2 separate regions of the Homo sapiens genome follow, and region 2 is linked to region 1. Evidence: promoter capture Hi-C in 16 types of primary human blood cells and fetal thymus (Javierre and others, 2016). All regions are on one chromosome and are shown on one strand. The core of a region is centred on a gene start or on the middle of the fragment in contact, and the rest is flanking DNA. Distances in the headings are between cores, read along the strand shown. Region 1 holds the start of HIGD2B (HIG1 hypoxia inducible domain family member 2B). Region 2 overlaps ADPGK-AS1 (ADPGK antisense RNA 1).

Region 1 (5,005 bases), core at 892-3,391:
ATCCTAGCTACTTGAGAGGATGAGGTGGAAGTGTTAAAGGTGGAGGGTGTCCAGGTTCTTGGTGTCTTGAAAAAAGAATTGGACAAAATGCACAAACAAAGCAAGGAAGGGACAAGGAATTTACTGAACATGAAAGTACACTCCAGTGTGGGAGCGGGCCTGAGCTTAGAAGTTCAGTGGCTCCGTTACAGAATTTTGGGGAGTTTAAATAACCCCAGAGGATTCCATGGTTACTTCGGGTATGCCTTATGTAAATAGAGAAGATGAAGTAAAGTTACAAAGACATTTATGGCCTATGCCCTATGGACAGAATATTACCTGTTATAGCTGAAGTGTGAATTGGCCTTATGTTCCCTACCTCCAGACCCTATTTTCCTGCCTCAGGAGGATTACTTGAGCCTAGGAGTTCAAGTCCAGTCTGGACATCAATAGTGAGACCCCTGCCTCTGAAAAAAAATTTTTTTGAGACAGAGTTTTGCTCTTGTTGCCCAGGCTGGAGTGCAATGGGATGATCTCAGCTCACTGTAACTTCCACCTCCTGGATTCAAGCAATTCTCCTGCCTCAGCTTCCCTAGTAGCTGGGATTACAGGAGCCGGCCACCACGCCCGGATAATTTTTTGTATTTTTAGTAGAGACAGGGTTACACCATGTTGGCCAGGCTGGTCTTGAACTCCTGACCTCAGGTGATCTGCCCACCTCAGCCTCACAAAGTCCTGGGATTACAGGCGTGAGCCACCGAGCCCAGCAAATTTTTGTTTTTTAGACGGAGTCTCCCTCTATCGCCCAGGCTGGAGCACAGAAATGCGATCTCGGCTCACTGCAACCTCTGCCGCTTGGGTTCAAGTGATTCTCCTGACTCAGCCTCCCGAGTAGCTGCGATTACAGGCGGGCACCACCATGCCCGACTAATTTTTTGTATTTTTAGTAGAGACGGGGTTTCACCATGCTGGCCAAGCTGGAAAATTTTATTTTTAATAAATGAAAGGCAGAGTATTTATCTGAAAAAAGTGGGAGACCAACAGTCTCATGGGATTGTTATAAAGATTAAAAGAGAGAGTGTTACTGAAATACTTAGAAGAGCTGTTATTCTATTGCTGTCCTTTCCCCTTGTATTTGGATAGATTACCGTACTTGTTTCTTCTATGTAACTCTAATTGTCAGTGGGGTTCTCCCTCTCTTAGAGGCCTGGAGAAACTTGTCTTAAATGCTTTCCCAGTTAATGAATTGGGAGAGGCAGATTTTATGTCTAAATTACAAGGGCGAGACTTAAAAGTATGAATTGGGGCTAATGTCAGTGCTCAGGTGCAGGGATCCTCCGTTTTGTTCATCACACAGCTCCCGGCACTTTAATAAATGAGGCTCAAAGAAACGACGGGCTTAGGTCATGCAGTAGTCAAATTCAGAACTCATGTTTGATTCCAAAGCCCACACGTTTTCCTAGTTTAGAAACACTAAACATTTAATTCACCGCACCGGGGGCCAGACAGGTAATGGAGAACGCCTTAAGTATGTTAGGAAGGGAAGTTATCTACAGTCGCAGCCGCTATTCAGATCTATTTCACTGCCTTGCAGAAAACGCCGACTGTCGTCTCTTTATCCCATGGCCGATTTCTTGTGAAATCTCCTAACTTTTAAATATTTCCAATCAAAAGACTGCCGTTCAAATGCAGCCCACCAGGAGCATGTTTGCAAACTCTGGAGTAAACAAGAGTGGGAAGCTGATAAGGTGAGTACCTCAGTTCGATAGTGACAGCCAAGAAACGGGGAGTTTTGTACCTAAGGCGAGAAAGAAATTCTCCGCCGAAATCTCCCGGAAGAAGGACTGAATTAAATGCAGATTAGAGTCAGGGCAGGGTAAGGTGGCGGGAGAACTAGGCTGCCATCCCAGGTGGCTGGCCTACCAGCCAGCGCGGCCGGAGGTACAGACCATGTACAGACCACGGCGAGGGGTGTTAGGGGCTTCTCGGGATAAAGGCAGCGAGTGGCTGCGCATTCCCTCCCCGACTCTTTCAGAGGTAAGCCTTCTGTGGAGCAGACCCTAATCCTCCCCCTGATTCCTTAGGTCACTCGGCGATTTACTTCCTTCCCCCGCTTCCTCACAGTCCTCCACAGCCCTACGACTTCCGCTTGCCTCGTCGTCTGGGAAACCGCCGACTTCCGGCCGCGCAGCGGTGGGCTGAGCTAAAATGGCTGAGGAGAGAGTCGCGACGGTGAGCGCCGAGATTCTCTTTAGTTGCCCGGCCGCAGGGCAAGGCAAGCTGGCGGGTGGCTTTTGTCCCATGCAGCGGTTCCTGGAGAGAGGCGGAGCTGGGTGCCGAGCGTCTCAGGGTGGGCGGGGCGACACGGTCCCCTTTTTACTGTCCCGGGAACTGGTCGCCTGGGGCAAGTCTGGATACTTAGCAGCACAGGTCCTGTTCTAGGACTGTAGTCCCTCTTGGGGTGCGCTGGACGGAGAAGGGAGACTTTTCACCAGTAATGGCTCTTACCGTAGTGCCATCTTTTTCTGTCTCGGGGGTTTGGAAGGTAATGACTAGCACTTGTGTAGACAGTTCCTGTTAATCCCGTGAATTGGGAATTTAACATGCCTGGAAGCTTGCAGCGTCACTGCCTTCTGCCAGTGGAGCGGGACTGTGTTTTTTCTGTGGTGATTAAGTTTAGGAAAGTACGGTTTTGGAATTCATCTGAAGGCTGAGTTGGGCGTTCACTCCACAGAACTGCTAATATAGAGGAACCCGATGAATTCAGGATGACCTAGTCGCTATTTTTTGAGGCATATATCTATAATTGGATCTAATTTCGGTAAAGTGCCAAGTGTGAAGCTTTGTTTACCTTGCTTTAGTGTTGGGTTTGAAAGCCTGTTCTGTCCATTTGTTAGAATGATTTTAGGTATTCGGAATTTATTGTCTTTCGAAAAACGCCCTGGAAAACAGTACAAATAGCAGCCTTTGGCTGTTTTACAACTTAGTTTTGGCTAAGCAGCAAGGTTAGTGTTATTGTTAGAGGGCCTTTTGTTTGTTTTCTACTCTCATTTGCAGAGTAGTCATATTATTCTAGTCTAATTAGAAAACTCTGAAGACAGAAACTTTTTTTTTTGAGACGGAGTGTCGCTGTTGTCGGCCCGGGCTGGAGTGCAATGGCGCGATCTCGGCTCACTGCAACCTCCGCCTCCCAGGTTCCAGCAATTCTCCTGCCTCAGCCTCCGGATTAGCTGAGAATACAGGCGCCTGCCACCACGCCCGGCCGAAACATTTTTATTAAGCTAAGAAATTTAAAATAGCTAGGCCGGACGCGGTGCATCACGCCTGTAATCCCAGCACTTTGGGAGGCCGAGACGGGTGGATCACTTGAGGTCATGAGTTTGAGACCATCCTGGCCAACATGGTGAAACCCCGTCTCTACTAAAAATACAAAAATTAGCGGGGCATCGTGGCGCTCGCCTGTAATCCCAGGTACCTGGAAGGCTGAGGCAGGAGAATCGCTTGAACCCCGGAGGCGGAGGTTGCAGTGAGCCGAGATCATGCCATTGCACTCCAGCATGAGCGACAGAGACAGACTCCTTCTCAAAAAAAAAGAAAGAAAAAACAGATTTTAAAATAATTAAATAGGCCAGGCTCAGTGGCTCACGCCTGTAATCCTAGCACCTTGGGAGGCTGAGGTGGGTGGATCGCCTGAGGTCAGGAGTTCGAGACCAGCCTGGCCAACGTAGTGAAACCCTGTCCCTACTAAAAAAATACAAAAAATTAGCTGGACGTGGTGGCGGGCGCTGGTAATCCCAGCTACTAGGGAGGCTGAGGCAGGAGAATCGCTTAGAACCCAGGAGGCAGAGGTTGCAGTGAGCCGAGATCGTGCCATTTCACTGCAGCCTGGGCATCCAGAGCAAAACTCCGTCTCAGAAAAAAAAAAAAAGTAAATAGCATGGTTAATGTTACTGGGTTTTAAATATTAAAAACATAGGAAAGAAAATACTTCCACTCCAGCCTGGGTGACAGAGCAAGACTCCGTCTCAAAAAAAAAAAAAAAAAAAAAAAGAAAATACTTCTAAGTAATCTTAAAGTGTAAAAGATAATGGGTAACATAACATTGCTACAAATATAGCTTATCCTCTAGTGCTCATCACAAGTGTTTGTGTAATAGAATATGAACTTGAGTCTGTGACGGCAGAATTGTCATGTACATTTGAATGTCTAATACTGTTTTAAAGAGAATAGCTTTTGTTTCGATATGACTTAGCAATTAAGCCTGAAGTTAACTGTTTTCATTGTTGTCAAATTTATTGCTAGTAGTGTTACGTTTATAGTAATTTTCATCTTTTCAAGTTACCAATGCATGGAAATGTGAATTTCTGTCCTTTTAGGAAGTGGTATTTTATCTTTTTTTTTTTTTTTTTTTTGAGACGGAGTCTCACTTTGTCGCCCTGTCTGGAGTGCAGTGGCGTGATCTCAGCTCAGTGGAACCTCTGCCTCCCGGGTTCAAGTGATTTTTCTGCCTCAGCCTCCCGAGTAGCTGGGGTTACAGGCCCTCACCACCATGCCTGGCTTATTTTTGTGGAGATGGGGTTTCACCACGTTGGCCAGGCTGGTCTTGAACTCCTGACCTTGTGATCTGCACGCCTCGGTCTCCCAAAGTGTTGGGATTACAGGCGTGAGCCATGGCCCCCTGCCTTATTTTTTAATACAATTAAAAGAACCCAGTAATCCTACTCCTAGACCTGTGTCCCACAGAAAAAAGTGTTAAACATGAGCGTGTAGTACTAGGGCATTCGTTGTAGTACTATCCGTAGTGGCAAAACGCTGGAAGCAAATTAAATGCCCATTAATAGGGTAATTGATGACTTCAGATATTTCCATACTGTGGAATATTATGCAGTCATTAAAAAGAATGTTACAACTAATTGCTTTTCCTCTCAGAAGCCCCTCTCTCTCACTAGAGAAAGCTGTTCTCCTTTCTTTCTTCTGCCTATTAAACCTCCATTCCTAAACTCAGAAAGAAAAAAAAAAAAAGAGA
Region 2 (5,005 bases), core at 472-2,971, 100 kb after region 1:
TTATTCCACAATCAAACTTTAACCCTTTTGGGGGCGCTGTTCCCTTTAACAAACTCTGGAAAATGTACACAATCTTGTGCACAACACGAGAGTTATGGACCTGGGTTGAGAAACGCTGCTTTCTTTTGTTCCCCCTTGGTGACATCACTTAAACCCAGCCCTCTCTTCGCTGATACTTTTCTGTGCATGAGGCTAGGTTGAGAGACAGTGAAGCTAGGCTGGGTACCAGCTCATTCTCATCAGCCACAATGCCCGGCCTAGTCTTGTTCCCTGGTTTGTTTCCACTTTTCCAATTCTCTCGGCTCCTGACCTTGGCTTTGTGTCCAGTTTTCCACTGTGACCCTGACCTTTGGACTTGGCAGCGAAACTTTATTTCCCTAACTTTGATCTTGGGCATTAGTCTTCATTCTCCTCAGCCCCACCTCATCAGAACTTCCCCATCCTGGTCATCTACCTTCCCGCAGTTCATCCTACCCAGCCTACCTGACCATGCCATCCCTTTCGACAAAGATATTCACACAGGAACAGATTTGGGCTACCTTGGAAAAGAAGCCAAAGAGCCAGTCAGATCTTTATGAAGCCATGAAAGCCATCTTCCCTAGAGTTGCCTGTCACTTCTCTCTCCTTAGGGAGACATGTCAGTCAGTTCCTAGAGAAACTGCTTCTTCTCACAACCCTCAGCTGTCAGGTTTCCCTGGCACCCAGAGGGGACTGAGCCAGCAGCTGACCTGAAAACAGCGAGTCTGCTGACTGTCCAGCGATCATTTCCCTCTATTGAGAATTTTAACCAAGTTTCTGTTGTCTGTAGTTATTTGATATTGGCTGTGGACCCACAAAGTCACACAAGGCTAAAGGTCAGAACCAGTTAAATATGTTTCCAAGGTGAAGTTTTGGGGAGCACAGGAAGCTGAACTGTGGGAAGGTGATAGAACAGACAGATCTAGAGGACTAGGAGAGTGCTCCACATTAAAGTGATGTGGACAGAAACCTGCCTGGGGCTTTCTTGCTCCCACGAGAGGCTGCTAAACTTCCAGCACTTTGCACCTAATTCTTCTGCTTCTTTCTAGATTTGCCAGAATTGTTGATTTAGTCACAGAGACAAAACAACAGCAGTTGAACAAAGTGGATGTTTATTTCTCATGTAAAAGTCTAAATGGGGTGTTGGCATGTTGTGGGCTGTGGTAGCAAGCTTGGCCCCCTCTGGTTGCTATGGGACCTGCTGTGGGCCTCTTGCTGGTTAGTCACTCAGTGTGGGTTTGCATTGTGGGTGGTGAAGGGGGCCAGACAAGGAAACGAGAGAGCTGACCTCAATTCCAACTGAGAACTGAAGAGTCAGGAGCCGCAGGAGGTGAAGAACAGAACACCAGGGACAGTTGCCAGGCCTGGCGGAGCCTGATGTGGCTTCTGGTCACATACAGAGTCACAGGGCCCTTAATTCCTTCTCATCGGGGCTCAGGGGCAGGCATTCACTGTCTTGGTGCCACAGTCCCTCTTGAAATATTTCCTTAACGAAAATCAGAAAAGATTCTGATCATCTATCTGTTCAGAGAGTCTGGAATCCTTTGCAAGCCAATTGTTTTTCTAGAAGTTAGGTTTCTGGGGACAATTAAAACAGCTCTGAGTGGGCAGCTGTGGCTCCTTTGCCTAGGCTGAACAAAGAGGAAAGGGCTGGGCTGGGCAGGCCTCAAGACACCCCCCGCCCCCACCCAAATTGCTTCCAGACATGGCCTTTCCTATTGGTTCTCTCTCCTAGGACCTTGAAATGAGAGAAGAAAAGCAATTTGGTTCTAGAAAATTCAGAGGCAAATGGAGGCTCCAGGTGCCCCACCCAAGATCCTGACCTGGAAGGCCAGGGAGCAGATCCTGTATGAACACAAAGAATTAGCAGAATCCTGTCAGCTTCCAAATTAGCTGAAGGTTTTGGCTTTAACATAAATACCCATCAGCGTCACCCCCGCAATCTGAAAGGCCTTAAGGGGCACATTTGTTCCCACGTGGAGCAGAAACTAAAGTGGGACCAAATGGTCCCTGTGAAAGCTGGGCTAACCCACTTTCCTTGCAGCTCCAGGCCTCTGGGGTTTCATCCAAGCTGCTCTTTGAAGGCCACACTGTGTCAAAGCCTTTGTTGATGCCAGGGACACAGCCCACCACAGGCCATGCCCAAAGGCCAGAGTCAGAGCACAATTTTGAAGATTACAGAAAACTCCAAAGAGATTGAAGAGATGGAATAAAGGATCCCAGCCCCCGAAAAGAGAAAGCTTTGTGTCTGTAGCCATAGCCCTTGGCAATCAGACATCCTCCTCACTAATGTGAGGTCAGGAGGGGACTAGAAGTGCTCAGAGGATGGACTGCCTCTGGCCAGTGCAGGGGAGAGGCAGGGGTGTTGAGGCACAGGAGCCAGATGAGAGGAACGTCAGCAGCAAAGCAGTAAGAAGAACATGAGAGTTTCTTGATAGTAATAGAACTTCCTACACAGACTGGGAACCGGGTTGTAGCTTGAGGGGATGTGACAACATAGTGGCCCGGAATTTTCACTTTGGAAATTAACTGCTTTGGACCAGGAAGAAGCGCTGAGCCTAGAAAGGCAGGAGGCACAGGACTGTGTGGGCTTCTGTCTGGCAGGGACCTATGAGCTTCATAGGGCGAATGAATCGGGGCAGGATAAAGCAGAGGCCTCCACCCTCACAGTGCTCTTAGCCATCTCAGGCTTCCCGGAACACTGCTACCAGGCTGCCTGCTGGAGCCCTTTACACTCACAGGCCTTCCTGCTTGGGTTCTCTTCTGCAGGCTGCGTAAACCAGTCCTGTTGTAGCCCTTGTAGCATCTGCTGTAGTGATCTGGTTTGGGTTTCAGTATTACTTGCAATGGTTTGGAAGGAAATGGGAAGTTTGCCTTCTAACTACATTTTCTTTTTGATTCAAGAACCCTAGCAGTTCTACAACCACTGGGCCTAAAACTAAAATAAAGGAAAAATAAATAAAAGGAAGCAAAAACATCTAACTGGGATGGCCTGGCAGCATTGCCAGAGAGAGTCCTCAGGGGCCCATGCTTGTTCTGTCTTTTGCTCTGCCATCCCTAGGGTGGACAGCACGGAAGAGGCAGTACATCTTAACAAAATCAGGGTTCTGGATGAAGGGAGGGGTGGTGAATGGTTGCTGCAATCAACAGTTCATACTTCAATGGAAAGAAGGTGGGATTTGATTCCTGGCTGCAAATCTTCACTCTGTCACCTGCTATCTGTGTGCCCTCAGGTAAGTCATTTAACTTTTCTGTTCTTCAGTTTCCTTATATGCAAAATAATTCCTACTTTGCAGAATGGTTGTGGGAGGTAGAGTTATCTTAAGACAGTCTAGCACAGTGTCTGCTACATGCTGGAATTCAAAACATTCCCTGCTGTTGCTATGGTTGGTTCTGAGAGCTATATTTAATTTTCTTTTTAGTCTTTCTTGCTGGTCTGTCACTCTCTTACTATAAGGAAGACAGCCATTTCTGCATAGGTCACTATGCAGTAGCCTTTTCTATTTTTTGACGGCTTAGCATCTATGTAATATCCCACTGAATGAAAATACTAAAATTTATCTATTGTACTATGAATAGACGATTTGGAGTTTTCCCAGTTTTTTTACTATTACATACAGTGTTGCTATGTATATGCTGTGGTACACGTGTATAGCCATTTCTTCAGGGTAGAAACAAAGTAACATTTCTGGGTCATATGATATGCCTGTCTTCAACTTTACTATATAATATCTGACATCTTTCCAAAGTGGTATGCCAGTTTATCTTCCCACTGGCAGCATATGAGAATTTCTGTTGCTCCAGCTACACTCCAACAGATTCTTAAAGCTTTGTCATTTTGTAGGGTGTGTAGTGGTATCTTACTGTGGTTTTGACAAGTTTCCATTTGTTGGTTATTTGCAAGTATCTTGCCTCCCTCCCAGTCACTTGTCTATTCATTCTTTTTATAATATCTTTAGTGAGTAGAGTTCTATGAAAAATTATTCTTATTTATGTATTTTTGTAGAGATAGGGTCTCTCTGTGTTGCCCAGGATGGTTTTGAATTCCTGACCTCGAGAGATCCTCCTGCCTTGGCCTCCCAAGGTGCTAGGAATACAGTTGTGAGCTACCATGCGCAGGCTTAAAGTTCTTCGTTTTTAGTGTAGTTACCGTTTTGTTCTTTTTTTATTACTACTTTCCCCTTATCATTGGTGCTTTTTGTTACTTATTTAAAAAATCTTCCCATACTCAGGATCGTGATGGTATTTTCCTGTACAACCTTCTAAGAGCTGTAGGCTTTCACATTTCATGTTTAGGTATTTAATCTACCTTGGAATTGATTTTTGTGTGTTGTGAGAAGAATGCTTATAGATACCCAATTGACCCAGTGCCTTTTACTGGTCATTTCTCAATGACTCTGCATTCCCACCTCTGTCCAATACCACGTGTCTATGTATGTGTGGATCTGTTTTGGGGCTCTTCAATCTGTTCCATTGGTCTATTTGTTTATCAGCGTCTCACTGTCTTGATATCTGTTAATATAAATTCTTTCTCCTTACTCTTCAAGAGTGTCTTGGCTATCTTTGGCCTTTTAAAATTCCCATATACATTTTTGAATCAACTTGTCGCCCTCCCTCCCAAAAAAACCCAATTAGGATTTTTATCATTCTAGGACTATGGTAGATCCCTTCATTTATTTAGATCTACCTAAATGTCTCCCAATATCATATTAGACTTTTTGTGGAGGATTTGTATGTCTTTAGTAAGTTTTATTACTAGGCACTTAATATTTTTAGTATGCTTATTGAAGTAAAATTGATATGCATTAAGTGCATAATATTTAAAGTATACAAATTAATAAGTTTAATATATGTATACACCCTGAAACTGTTACAGGAAAGGGGTCCAGATCCAGACGCCAAGAGAGGGTTCTTGGATCTCATGCAAGAAAGGATTCAGGGCTAGTCTGTAGTGCAAAGCGAAAGCAAGTTTATTAAGAAAGCAAAG

The links. The method cuts DNA at HindIII sites, captures the fragments that hold promoters and counts their contacts. A CHiCAGO score of 5 or more calls a contact.
Region 2: a fragment that was not itself captured here is called in contact with the fragment with the promoter of HIGD2B in region 1 in 1 of 17 cell types (fetal thymus); the score reaches 5.4 in fetal thymus.

Annotation. Positions count from the first base shown.
Region 1 is chr15:72,684,041-72,689,045 of GRCh38, forward strand. It overlaps HIGD2B (HIG1 hypoxia inducible domain family member 2B), which reads right to left and starts at 2,142. Exons shown (of 3, transcript NM_001350932.3): 1 at 1,778-2,142. BBS4 (Bardet-Biedl syndrome 4) reads left to right here and starts at 2,167. Exons shown (of 16, transcript NM_033028.5): 1 at 2,167-2,211. The coding sequence starts at 2,188. The HindIII fragment of the contact is 12,662 bases long and covers 1-2,591 here.
Region 2 is chr15:72,784,343-72,789,347 of GRCh38, forward strand. It overlaps ADPGK-AS1 (ADPGK antisense RNA 1), which reads left to right. Exons shown (of 3, transcript NR_040107.1): 1 at 1-854; 2 at 3,080-3,251. Among named protein-coding and RNA genes, the nearest start is that of ADPGK, 3.1 kb to the left of the region's middle. The HindIII fragment of the contact is 1,069 bases long and covers 1,188-2,256 here.